4 separate regions of the Homo sapiens genome follow, and regions 2, 3 and 4 are each linked to region 1. The links are contacts of gene promoters, found by promoter capture Hi-C in blood cells and fetal thymus (Javierre and others, 2016). All regions are on one chromosome and are shown on one strand. The core of a region is centred on a gene start or on the middle of the fragment in contact, and the rest is flanking DNA. Distances in the headings are between cores, read along the strand shown.

What was found. Contacts are between HindIII fragments. The CHiCAGO score rates a contact against its expected background, and 5 or more counts as called.
Region 2: a contact is called between a fragment that was not itself captured here and the fragment with the promoter of TUBA8 in region 1, in 1 of 17 cell types (erythroblasts). The highest score is 5.1, in erythroblasts.
Region 3: a contact is called between a fragment that was not itself captured here and the fragment with the promoter of TUBA8 in region 1, in 1 of 17 cell types (naive CD8 T cells). The highest score is 5.3, in naive CD8 T cells.
Region 4: a contact is called between a fragment that was not itself captured here and the fragment with the promoter of TUBA8 in region 1, in 2 of 17 cell types (naive B cells and total B cells). The highest score is 7.2, in naive B cells.

Annotation. Positions count from the first base shown.
Region 1 is chr22:18,109,145-18,112,356 of GRCh38, forward strand. It overlaps TUBA8 (tubulin alpha 8), which reads left to right and starts at 1,665. Exons shown (of 5, transcript NM_018943.3): 1 at 1,665-1,724. The coding sequence starts at 1,722. RefSeq lists an enhancer at 1,162-1,361 and a silencer at 1,442-1,831. The HindIII fragment of the contact is 5,564 bases long and covers 1-3,212 here.
Region 2 is chr22:17,736,823-17,740,034 of GRCh38, forward strand. BID (BH3 interacting domain death agonist) reads right to left here. Exons shown (of 6, transcript NM_001196.4): 4 at 2,527-2,666; 5 at 1,195-1,407. Among named protein-coding and RNA genes, the nearest start is that of MIR3198-1, 26 kb to the right of the region's middle. The HindIII fragment of the contact is 7,459 bases long and covers 1-3,212 here.
Region 3 is chr22:17,803,298-17,806,509 of GRCh38, forward strand. All of the region lies in intron 29 of MICAL3 (microtubule associated monooxygenase, calponin and LIM domain containing 3), which reads right to left. Among named protein-coding and RNA genes, the nearest start is that of LINC00528, 28 kb to the left of the region's middle. RefSeq lists enhancers at 481-1,680, 675-1,515, 1,516-2,354. The HindIII fragment of the contact is 3,985 bases long and covers 1-3,212 here.
Region 4 is chr22:17,840,390-17,843,601 of GRCh38, forward strand. MICAL3 (microtubule associated monooxygenase, calponin and LIM domain containing 3) reads right to left here. Exons shown (of 32, transcript NM_015241.3): 20 at 1,433-1,628. Among named protein-coding and RNA genes, the nearest start is that of LINC00528, 65 kb to the left of the region's middle. The HindIII fragment of the contact is 7,527 bases long and covers 1-3,212 here.

The DNA of each region.
Region 1 (3,212 bases), core at 415-2,914:
ACAAAAAATTAGCCGAGCGTGGTGGCACGCGCCTGTAGTCCCAGCTACTCGGGAGGCTGAGGCAGGAGAATCACTTGAACCCGGGAGGCGGAGGTTGCAGTGAGCCTAGATCACACCACCGCACTCCAGCCTGGGCGACAGAGCAAGACTCCATCAAAAAAAATAAAAAATAAAAGAAATGCTATGGAAGAAGTAATAGAATATGCTATGGGAGAGTTTGGAAGAGAAATACACATAGAGTTATACTAATAACCAAAATCCTTTATTGACCATTTATCATGTGCTTGGCACAATTAGCTTAATCCTGAGTCTTAATTGTCAGGATCTTACATTATAAGATAGACAAAAATTCAACGCATGCTTTACTAAGTACCGTTTGTATCAGTGGGTAAAGCACTGTGTTTGGTACTCTCTCAAATGCAAAGATGATTACGACACATGTACTATCGTTTATGAATGGGTGGCCAACAGAACAGATTGCCGCATAGGTAAGCAGAAATCTGCTCTCATTCTCTATTGGCCACAAGCAGGCATGTCTTAGGAGCAGAAGGGTAGGAAGATCTCTAACTGTGCTTGGAAACTTGGGGAGTTACCACGTCTGGCTAAAGTGGTATTGTCTTAAGGAAAACCTATGAATTTGCCTGCGTTGGCTTGGTGCTGAGGAAAGTGGAAGAGAGAGGCTGGGGTACACCTTTCAACATGAATGGAACTGACCACTGGAGGGAAAGAACAAGAAACAGCAGTGAGAACAAGGAACAAAGACCATCCAGCCCCTCACCCACCTGGGGGGAAGTGAGGGGAGATGGGCAGGGTGACAACGTGGCCAACATCTAAAGTGTGAAGAGGGGCTTTTACCAAGTGCCCACCCCTTCCCGAGCAGGGGGCAACCAACAGCATCTGGCGGGTCTTACTACTGGGCAGAGGCAGGGGAACCCTGGTATGAGTTCTGGATTACATAGGAGATGTGACTTGGACACGTTTGGGGCTTAAAAGTAGGAAGGGATCAAGGGGGGAGATTTGAAAATCCCGGTGGAGGTGCGAGGTATCCGGGGAGAGGGTAAAAACGGGAACAGTCTTCAGCACCTGCCTGTACCAGGAGCTCTGTGTATGCCATCTCATTTCCGTCTCCAGCAACCAGGCGGGCCTTGGCGGCAGGAGGCACAGGCTTTGGGAGCAGAGGCCCTGCAGCTTGCCAAGCACACACGGCCCTAGGGCGCCCAGCTGAGACGGCACCTTGGCACCCGGGCCCGCTGCAGCCCGCTCCGGTCAGCTGCACCCCAGTCAGGAGCCTTTCCAGCGGGTCGGAGGAGAACGGAAGTTTGGGGAGACCCGCGCGATTCGCCTGGCTGCATTTTACATTTCTTTCTCCGGCAGCTGGGGTCACGAAGGCTGCTCTCGCCGGCGGTGTTGGAACGTGGACACGTGCGCTTTGGTAATAGGGCAGCCTCCCCCGCGGGCGCAGTCCCCGCTGCGAGCGCCCCCGGCTGCTGAGGCGGGACCGAGGACCCGGAGATTTGAGCCGCGGGTGGGCGGGGAGGGGCCTTTGTGACCTGCCCGCCCCTCCCCGGCACTGTGATGCCGGGGGGCAGCTGCGGGCCCGGCGCGCCTGTCCCCGGCGTCCCCCCCTCCCGGTGTGTCACAACGGCGGAGGCGGCTGTATCTGGAGCAGTCGGGGCGGGCAGGCCCAGCTGAGAGGTGCGCGGGCGAGGACAGCGGCAGCGATGGTGAGGCTTCCCGGGGCCAGGCGGGCTGCGGGCGCGCGGCAGGCGTAGGACCGAGAGCCGAGTCTACGCGGAGGCGCACGGACCCGTCTTCCTGGAGCCGCAGGGCTCAAGGCCTTCTGGGGGTGGCAGTTCAGGGTCGAGGAGTCCGCACCCTCGGGCGGGAACACCCGGTGCCCTTTATCGTATGGGGGAAATAGAGACCAGGGGCCAGTTGTTCCTTAAAGGGACCTAAGGGAGCTTTGCGTGCAGACGAGGGGGAGGGAGGCCCTGGGGAGCCCGACGGAGAAGGGGGCGAGATTCTGGGGTCCCCAGATGGGCAGCCTGTGGACAGAGTGGAGAGAAGGGCGAGTCCGGGGATTCTGGATGGGTGGTCTGGGCCGGGGCGACTGGGGGGCCAGATGCAGTCACGTCTCCGAACCCAGCCTAATGTGACAGGGCCCGGAATGTGACAGAGGACCTAGGGCGCCACGGTCCCCCCACGCGTGGAGGTCTTTCTCGCAAGCCTGGCCAGCGGCTTGGGTTTGCTGCACGCACAGCCCCAGCGCGGCGGGGTCCTCCGGGCGCACTCAGCAGCTCCCAAGTCTTTCCAGCGGTCAGAGTCGAAGGACTTTGGGAGTAAGAAGTCTCTGCTTCCAAAGGCCAGGGGACCTTCGACCTGTTTCCTACCCTGGCTTAGGGGGATCGCGGCTGCTCCCTTCCCTGCCCCCGCCCCTGGATCTTACTGAGGGGCGGCTGCAAACACTCAGTTCCTCTTTCTAGGGTCCCCCTCTCCGCCCCCAGTGCCCCTGGTGGTTAACATTTGCCCCCAGTCCACTTTCCCAAAGCCCAGAATCCCAGGAATCCCTCCTGGACCCCTGATCTTTCAGCAGTAGGGAGATGGGCTGGAAAGATTGGGGGCAGAGTGAGGGCAGAATAAGCCTATGTCATGGCCAAGGTCGGGTTCCCTGGGCAGGCTTGCTCCAGGTGTCAGTGATCCAGAAAGCAGGCGAGAACCCCCTCCGCCCCGCCCTGTTACGTTTGGCCCGTGCCCAGGGCCTCCTGGCTCCCCCGGAGCTCTAGCCTTCCAGCTTCAGTTTTGTCAGCACCCTCCCTCCTCCTAGCGGGCTCCCAGACACCCCTGGGAACTGAAAGAACTTGGGAATATTAGGGAGGGTGGCCACAGGAACCTATTTCTGCCTGAGGACCCTGGTATGAGGCCACACAAAGGGCCCGGAGCTGCCAGTTCAGAATTTTGACTCCTGGCTCTGCAGCTAGCTGTGTGACTTCAGGAAGGTCACTTAACCTCTCTGGATGTGTTTGTTTTACCTGCGAAATGAAGAGGGTTATAATTCAAATTTCCAAGACTCCACTTAGATTTCATTATTTTTAAACTTTTTATGGTAGGGAATTTCAAACATATGCAAACGGAGAGCAAATGGTATAATTAGCGATTATATACATCATCTAAGTTCAATAATTACCAACTTCTGACCTGTCTCACTTCATTTA
Region 2 (3,212 bases), core at 189-2,688, 370 kb before region 1:
TGAGACAGTCTTACCCCATCATCCAGGCTGGAGTGCAGTGGCGTGATTGCGGCTCACTGCAACCTCTGCCACCAGGGTTCAAGCGATTCTCCTGCCTTAGCCTCCTGAGTAGCTGGGATTACAGGCGCCCGCCACCACACCCAGCTAATTTTTTTTGTATTTTTAGTAGAAACGGGGTTTCACCATCTTGGCCAGGCTGGTCTTGAACTCCTGACTTCATGATCCGCCTGCCTTGGCCTCCCAAAGTGCTGGGATTACAGGCGTGAGCCACCGCGCCTGGCCCTCAGCTAATTATTTTTATAAATTTTTTAGAGACAGGGTCTCGCCATGTTGCTCAGTTTTGTCTCAAACTCCTGGCCTCAAGCAATCCCACTGCTTCTGCTTCCCAAATCGCTGGGATTACAGGCTTGAGCCACCATGCCCAGCCTTTAGACTGTGACTTGTAATACCTGGTTATGGGACAGATGTGCTCTGGAAAAGATTTCAGACAGTTCCCCCCCTTTTTTGACTACTCGTTTTGGTTCACATTACACCTTTTTTTTGAGATGGAGTCTTGCTCTGTCGCCCAGGCTAAAGTGCAGTGGTGCGATCTCAGTTCACTGCAACCTCTGCCTCCAGGGTTCAAGCAGTTCTCCTGCCTCAGCCTCCTGAGTAGCTGGGACTACAGGTGTGCGCCACCATGCCCGGCTAATTTTTGTATTTTAGTAGAGACGGGCTTTCACCCTGTTGGCCAGGGTGGTCTGGAACTCCTGACCTCAGGTGATCCACCTGCCTTGGCCTCCCAGAGCAGTGGGATCACAGGCATGAGCCACCGCACTGGCCACATTACACTTATTTTTTATGGCAAGGTGAGAGGTCTGAAAAGCTCATTGTGAGCCCTCCAGCCCCTTCCTTCCACTCTGTACCTGCTTGTGCCTTGAGGACCCCACCAGGAGTGTGACGTGAGCCTTTGCCACCCCTCTGAATGGAGCATGTCTCCAATAGTAAGCTGCTAAAGCTCCAAAGGACTCTGGGTGCTCTTCGTCACCTTTACACACAGCTTTCTAGCTCACAACAGCAAAACCAAACCCGAGCAGGACAGCCTGTAACCCTTGTGCTGGCATCAGAGGCAGGGGCCCCGCTGGGCTTCTCAACCTTCCAGAGAAAAGGGCATGGGCGGCAGGCAGGGAAGGAGCTGACCTCAAGGGTTCTTACATTTCTGGCTAAGCTCCTCACGTAGGTGCGTAGGTTCTGGTTAATAAAATTCACTGTTGTGTGAAAGACATCACGGAGCAAGGACGGCGTGTGACTGGCCACCTTCTTGGCCAGCAGCAGGGCCAGCACCAGCATGGTCTTCTCCTTCTCCATGTCTCTAGGGTAGGCCTGCAGCAGCTGCTCCAGGGCAGTGGCCAGGTCCCTGTTCCGGTCCTGCACAGAGGGGCACACAGAACCTGGTTTACTAATACTCTTCCCTCTCAAAGGAAAGACAGTCCCCAGTATGAAGAAGCACTTCAAAGTACTTATTAAGTATCCAGGGCTGCTGGGCGGAAAGAATGAGAAACAGTTGAGTTCTGAGAGGCAATGGAAAGGGAAGACTGCAATCACTCCCTGCAGGGGGCTCGGTAAGCAAACGCATGTGTGGTGAGCCCATGTGCCCACTGTTAGACGGTGATGGGATACAAGAAGCCTGGGTCATCCCTGCGCCCAAGGCACTTCGAGTCCAGAACTAGTGACCACCTGCGACGCCTTAGGCCCATTTTATTGGTGCAGACCTAGCTGAATGGACAGGAGGAAGGGGGTTCCTGGGGGACACTAGACAGACTACAAGGCTGGCAAGGACCGTCAGGCGGTCGGCGCACATGCAGAGTTACATGGGAGTGCGCCAGCCACTCCTGCGTTCTAGGCAGCTGCTGGGACATCACAGGCTGGCCCCACTGAACAGAAGCATGATTGGATTTCTAGGAGGTGAGGACGCCTGCATTTTCAGCTGGTAGAGTCGAAAAAGTGGAACTTTCTCTCCTCTCAGCTCCTACCGCTACAGGCCTGCATTTGGCAGTTGGGAGGATGTAGTTCTTTCCGCTAAGTGTTCTGGGGACACAGTGCCCCGGACCAATCTTGTATCCCCAACAGTGCCAAGCAGATGGTAGAGCTCAGAAAGTTGTGTGGATTCCAACCAAGGAGCTCAGCAGAGCAGCAGGCACCACTCCCAGGGCTTACGGTTCTCACTGGCACCATTATTAAACTCCCTACAACCAAAGGAAGCGTCTGTTTCTTCTGTTGGCCAAACATGCTTCGTTCATCTTTTAGAGGCTTTTACCCCTAAACTCTTTACTCTGATTTAAGGTTCAGGTTTCCTCGATGTCAACCAGCTGAAATCTTCTGCAAGGCAATGAACCATACCCTACGTCCAGTTACTTCGTCAGAGTTCTGGACCTGACAGTCACGAGTTGAGTGGCCTCACGGGACAGTGGGCTGCCTGGTGAGAGGCAGGGGACAGGCCCCCTTGGCTCACTTGCCCGCCCACGCGGTCCTCAGGCCCTCACTCACCTCCTCCGACCGGCTGGTGTTCCTGAGCTGCAGGGCCAGGCCGTTCACCAGGCCCGGAGGGATGCTACGGTCCATGCTGTCCCCGACCTGGGCGAGGTGCCTGGCAATATTCCGGATGATGTCTTCTTGACTTTCAGAATCTGTGTTCAGGCAGGGGCGGCAGAGACAGAGCAGACTCAGAAAATGTCCCTGATACCCTCTCCCACACCACCCTGCCCCGGGAAAGGACAGGTCCGCGATGGGACAAGGCCAGCCCCCACTGGGCACGTGCTCCACTCCACCAGGGCCACAGCGGGCGGGCTGAGTACCAGCGCTGAGCTGGGTTCTGGGCAGTGCCGGAGCTCAGGGCCTCGGCTGAGGCCCAGGCTCCCGCACACAGGCACCACGTCCCCACAGGCAGGGCCGGTGAAGCTGGGGCATCACGACCACGCCTGAGGTACAAGCCTGGCAGCGGCTTCATGGCTCACACCACACAACCCAACAGGGTTGGCCTTGGCCTGGGCAGCCGTTGGGGAAGGGGCTCTGTGGGCAGACGGCATCCCAGACCCACTTTTGCCCTCTCAAGCCTGAGAGCCCCCATTCCTCGCAGTCCCGTCTCAGGAAAACCCCAGTTGTCACTGGCACCGGCAAGGCCCTGGAGAATCTCCCCTGCCTTTCCAACCAGAGCTCTCCCCCTTGCCCCTCAG
Region 3 (3,212 bases), core at 367-2,866, 310 kb before region 1:
GTGACTCCGGGCAGAAATCACTACAGAGAAGCCTTTCCCTCGCACTCAGCTCTTCTGGGAGAAACGAGACCACGACCCAGTGAAAATGGTCGGGCTGAGATCTTGGCATGTTTGCTTCTTTGCGTAAGTGTGGCAGGCAGTGAGCTCCCTAGCAGATATGATTCCTACAAGCAGTGAGGGATGAGATTCAGGGCAAAAGCTGTGTTGGAGTGTGTGTATTTAGGGGACCAGGACGCAGATGCAAGGCTGGTGGAGTCGGGTGGGCAAAGTTTTATTATAAAAAATTAAAAACGACCCCAGGCAGCAAAAGCAAGCTCAGATCTTCCTCTGGAGCACATGTGGGCAGCGGGGAGATCAGCACGCTGCTCTGTTTTGAGCTGGAAAAGGGTCTGTGCTTTTGCCATTTGGTTATTGGGTTGATTTCTCCTTGTTTTTGTGAGCAGGGACTGGGAAGCGTGGGTGGAGAAAGGGCGTCAGCGGGGTTAGTGTCAGCACAGGCGCTGCCATACATACCACCCAGATGCAAGTCGATGAGGTCACTGTAATAAGACTCTCCCCAATAGTCTACAACAAGGAATCGGTGAAGAGAGAGTTATTCCATCAGGTAGTCCTCCTGTCCCCCCATACCCAATCAATGATATGATATGGAGCAATCAATGATATGGAGCGCAAGAAACACAGACACAGCGAGGCGGCAGAGGAACGGCTGGAAGGCATGCGTGCCTAAGTGCATCACATACTGCATGTCCACACATGCCGTATCTGCATACTGCGTGGCTGCGGGAGGAGGGCGGTAACTAAAACTCACTGTGGGGAGTCAATGGTCACTATCAACATGATCCCACGTACACCAGGGATCAGCCAGGACAGAGGCTTTGGCTTTGCTGGGAACTCCTGCCCCTGGGACTGAACCTTCTCTAACTAAGAGTTAATAGAGCGGGGCTGCCTGCGTGTCAGTTGCTGATACTGGAAGCCCCAGGCTGAGGGCCTGGAGGCAGGAGGCAAACGTCCTACAGAAGCTCTGAAATCCTTAGGTTTCGTGCAGTCAGTGCTCTCCCAGGAATTCCCACGACCCCACTGCTGACTCTATCAAATGCCTTGCAGACCCACTTTTGCCGAATGGGTTTGAGAGAAAGGGGATCCTGTTTCGAGGCTTAGGCCTCCAAATTCAGTCGGCCTTCTTAACAACAGGAAACGAGCAGAGACTCATGCAGAGTTCTTCCCCCAGGCACTCGGCCGAAGGCTCCTGGAGGTGTGCTGGCCTGGGGCACTCCTAGCCTGGTAGTTCCACAGCTGTCTGGCCAAGAGCGCTATGTAATTTCCACGCCTGAGATGCAGACTGGGCACTGCCGAGAGGCTGGGCTTGAGCAGGCGGTCCTCATCTCCCCAGAATCATAAAGACACACAGAGCACAGCACTCGGCCGCCATGGTGTTGCCCTCTCTCCAAACCCCGCATTCTGAATGCAGATCCTCACAGCCTCCGGTCCCACCTGAGGGCCTCCCCTTGAGAGTGACACAGCAGACACAGTGGTAGAATGCGGTCCTGCCCCAGTTTTTCAATGCATGCTCAAGGCTGAGTCAGTGTTTTTGTAACAAAAAGGCTTCCCAGGTGCCCCAGGACTGGAAATTACCTAAGTTGTGGCCTGGCCCTAGGATCAAAGGTGCTGAAGCTAATCCTTGCAGCCTGGCCATACGTCGTCATACCTTAGACAAACGGAGAACGGGATGGCAGGTCCATGCTAGAGCGCTTCTCTGGAAAGGCAGCTTGGCTAACAAAGTCTGACGCCCTCAGACGGTGATGGAAGCTGGAGACCCCCAAGTGAGATGATGGCAGGTTCCAGCCAGTTTACTACAGTCCCCAGGGAAGGGCAGACTGCCATGATGAGAAGACTCCAGATTATTATCATGCCCAGCTGCCACTGCCTTCTTCAGGGCTCAGCCAGGTGCCACAAGACTAAGAAGAGGAACGGGACGCAGAAGCAGGAGAGAAAGCAGCAGCAGCACGCACACCTGGGCTTCAGAGACGGCATCGGCCAAGGAGGGGCAGGGCCACGGGGAACTGTGATGGGAGACCAGCTTGGAAGGGATGTATTCACGTAAGAGAAGGAACATATTTGGAAATTCTTATATTCTTATGGTAGGAACCATAATTCCTGAAAATTCCAGAGAGTTTCTCAAATGCATCACAACGAAATATCCCAACAGAGCTACTAAGGCCCATCTTGAAAAACAGAACAGAAACATCTTTGGATAGAGATATCTGCTGAAGACTCATCTAAAGGAAGGAGTTTGCACTACGACAGTGGTTTTCAAGCCTCTGTGGAACCCTAAGGTTCTTCCAAAGGCATTCCAAGGGGTCTCCCAAATACCTGATGTACAAATACTTGTAGCTCTTTCAAGAGCCCTTATTAAAATAAGACACACCACCTTCAAATGTTTTTGTTTTTGAGACAGAGTTTCGCTCTTGTTGCCCAGGTTGGACTGCAATGGCGTGATCTCGGCTCACCGCAACCTCCACCTCCCAGGTTCAAGCGATTCTCCTGCCTCAGCCTCCCGAGTAGCTGGGATTACAGGCATGTACCACCATGCCAGGCTAATTTTTTGTATTTTTAGTAGAGACAGGGTTTCTCCATGTTGGTCAGGCTGGTCTCAAACTCCCGGCCTCAGGTGATCCGCCCACCTCGGCCTCCCAAAGTGTTGGGATTACAGGCGTGAGCCACCGCGCCCGGCCCAAATGTTTTATATGCCAACTTTTCACCCACTGGAGACCATCAACCCAATAATTTGTGCTGCCAGGTGAGCTTGATTTTGTGGAGCCCTCAGGATCAAGTTTCCGCCTCTCTCTGTGTGTAAGTGGCTGAACTCCCTGTAAATGTGTTAGTGAAGAGGACATTTTATTCATTTGTTTATTTAAATTCTGGCCTGCAGCATAGTGCTCACCTGCCACCGTTCAGGGTCTGTCCGGGAGAGCTACAGCTCACTGACAGCACGCACGCCTGTCAGCGAGTCCCTTTATGTAGGTGGGTAACACGTTTTGCTGCGGTATTACAGCATGGCTGGGTTTTTGTTTACTTTGTTTGGGAGCCTCTTGTTTGAGACTTGCTTGTCATGAGGAATAGGAACTGCTGTTAGATTTGCTGTGATCCAACTGTGGAAAAAAAAAAAAAAAAGCTCTTGCCTCATTTTAAACTTCTAGTGTCTACATCATTTA
Region 4 (3,212 bases), core at 452-2,951, 270 kb before region 1:
CATGAATGCTAGTTTTAAAATCTTTTTTTAACTTCAATCTGAGTAAGATGAGGCATGTATTGCATTGCATAGATGCTGACTGATTTCATGTTTTCTGTGCTGCCCTCCTGTCATACCTGCCATAAATGCCAGGGGTTAGCCTTCCTGGAATGTCCTTGCTACATTACATGAACTTGCTGCCCCACTGCCTCTCACAATTTATAAATTACAGTGGAGAAAATGGTGCTGACCCACACTCAGCCCAAGGTCAAGCCAGTAGCTCTGCTCAAGGGTTTATAAATGTGTTTTGACACACAGCATCTCTCACCCTCACTGCAGGGTCAGTGGAGAGAGAGAGTGGGCTCCCCCTCATCTGGGCACAGTGGGGAGAGTGGGGCCTCCATGGGTGCTCTGGATAGGGAAGCAGAGTTCTGGATGAGGATGCACCATCAGTGACAGCTTTGGAACTGCAGACACCAAGGCAGAGGCTGCCCCCGGCATGCACGGAGGAGCGGTCTGTGAGGCAGCCCAAGAATGAATCTAGGCAGAGGGTGTCTGACATGAGGGCTGAGGTGGCGGGTGCAGCTGAAAGCAGCTCGGCCCAGCAAACACCTTCTGGAAAGCGTTCTTGGACCTTAAAAAAACTGCTCTGCTCTCCTTATCCCCACATGTTCCCTTCATCATGGCTAAATCAAGGTGTGTGATTCAAATGCTCTCCAAGGCCACTTGAGGCCTCTGCCCCTCGGGTTTGCAGCCTGTGTTTCTGTCCTGAAGCCCCACAGGACACCGGACCCCCTTTTGATTCTTGGCTCTCTTGATCATCTGTAATCGGCTGAACACTTTGAAGCCTTCGCTGATACTGGAAGCCCTGGGGTGCAGGGCAGTGGATATAGGGAGTCCTAGGGTTATAGCATGCACATCCCCAAAGGTGTCACCCAGCTGGATGTGATTACAGCTCTGGAACTGCCTAAGCATGCATCCACTGGTGCTGCATGCGGCCCCTGGGGCACACATTTTCAGTCCCTTTCTTTACCTACAGGAGAAAAAAAGATGCCTGGGGGACGGACTAGGCCTCCCTCAAGACGGCCCGGTGCACTGGTGGCTGAATCACCCAGAGTCCCTCCCCGTGTGCCCGTCCTTCCCTCTGCTGAATCTGTGAATAACCCGGGGGCAGAGCCTGCCACTTTCCTTCCCAATGACAGACTTGGAGCTGGGGACATGTCAGGTCCTCAAGGAATAAATACTTCCTGAATCTCTGAATTGAGTCTGATGGAGGAGTCCTCACTGACTAGAAGATGAGGCTAAGAACCTAAAAGGGACTGGGGAGAATGGACTGCGGGCAGCAGGAAAGACAGGAGGCCTCCCTTCACTGAGAAGAAACCGAGACACACAGAGGTGAGGAGGCTCTTAGGGCCGTGTGGCGGGTGGGCGCCCTGCAGCCCTGCGTGCTGACCTGCTGGCGACGTCCTCCTCGGCGCCCGTGTCCAGCACGCTGCTCAGGTTGTGCTCGGCCTGAGTCTCCTCCGGTACCTCCTGCAGTGCCTCAGCCTGCCTCAGGGACAGGCGGTAGTTCTCCAGCTCGATCCGCTCTGGGGTGCCCCTCAGTCGCTTGGCGATGCTGGGCTCCTCCAGGCCGTTCACGCCTGAACCTGCGGGACAAGCACAGAAGCACTGCACTGAGGTCCAACCACAGACGGGGCGTGGGGGTGGGGGCTGACACCCAGGCTGCAGGCCCTCCTGCCAGAATGTGGGGCAGGACAAAGGTCAGAGCATTTGCAGAGTTGCCAGAGGCCAGAGAAGGACCCTGGCATGTGAGAGGGAATTTCACTCTGCAGGAGAAAGGAAGGTGGCCCTGTCTGCCCTCCAGGTCAGAGCGTTCTCTCTCCTTCATCACCCTGAACCCGGCCCCCAGAGGGGAGACGCAGTCTCCCCACAAGAGTGACTGGTGGTGAGGGGTGTGGGCCAGACCGCAGGCAGCCAGGAGCCAGGTGCCCCTGAAGCAGCCTTGCCTGAGAAGGGCATCCCCGGTGCAGTCTGCCCCAGGGATCCAGGCCCCCACCAGGTGCCTCCCCCAATGCCTGCCCCGGGATCCAAGTCCCCACCAGGCACGTGCCCCACCACTGAGGGGGCCTGGCCAGCTGCCTGAAGAACGTCTCATGCTGCGGATCTGTCTCCTCACAGTTAGATAAGGCACTTTCGGTTTCATAAGGCCACGTGGGCGATGCTGCCCCTACCGCAGCACCGCTGCTCAGAGGAAGGACACCAGGCCCGACCGCTCACAGAGGTGGCACCCAGGCCTCTCTGCGATGCACAGGCACACTTCCCCATCAGTCCTCCGTGGGCTTCTGAAGCCACGGGGTGCCCTGCCTGCGTCCTTTCACCCTGTGGTTTCAGCATCGTCGGCGATCTTGGCCGGAGTCCTTTGTGTGCACAGGGCGTCACACCAGGTGATTTTAAAATCCCATCACTCTGGCTGGGTGCGGTGGCTCACGCCTGTAATCCCAGCACTTGGGGAGGCCGATGCAGGTGGATCACGAGGTCAGCAGATCAAGGCCATCCTGGCTAACACAGTGAGACCCCATCTCTACTAAAAATACAAAAAATTAACCAGGCACGGTGGCGGGCGCCTGTAGTCCCAGCTACTCGGGAGGCTGAAGCAGGAGAATGGTGTGAACCTGGGAGGCGGAGCTTGCAGTGAACCGAGATTGCGCCACTGCACTCCAGCCTGGGTGACAAAGCGAGACTTCATCTCAAAAAAAAAAAAAAAAAAAAAAATCCCATCACTCCTCCTCCACTACCATTCTTTGGTAAAGAAGCACTTTTCCCATTTTTAACTTTATACTTTCAAGTACTGCTATGGACTCGGATTTTTGAAAATGTGTTTTACAACTGTGCTTTGGTCTCCTTTAACATGGAACAGTTCTGCTGCCTCCCTTATCATCACCACTATTCTCTGTTGACGTCCCTTGTCCTCCTGATCCTGGTCAGAGGAGGCTGTCATGAGTCCTCTGGTGTGTCCCCTGTAATGTGAGTAGCACCGGGTCCAGGTGGAGGCGGGCAACCCCAGGTCAGATTTCCTCATCTTCCAGATGCCTGGCTCCACCAGTAGTTGGCTGAAGGGTCTTAGAAAATTTACAGAACTCCTCAGAGCTCGTTTCCTGATAGATAAATGATGGCACCACCCACCTCCCAGAGCCGTCATGGACACCGAGTGACACGATGCACACATACTC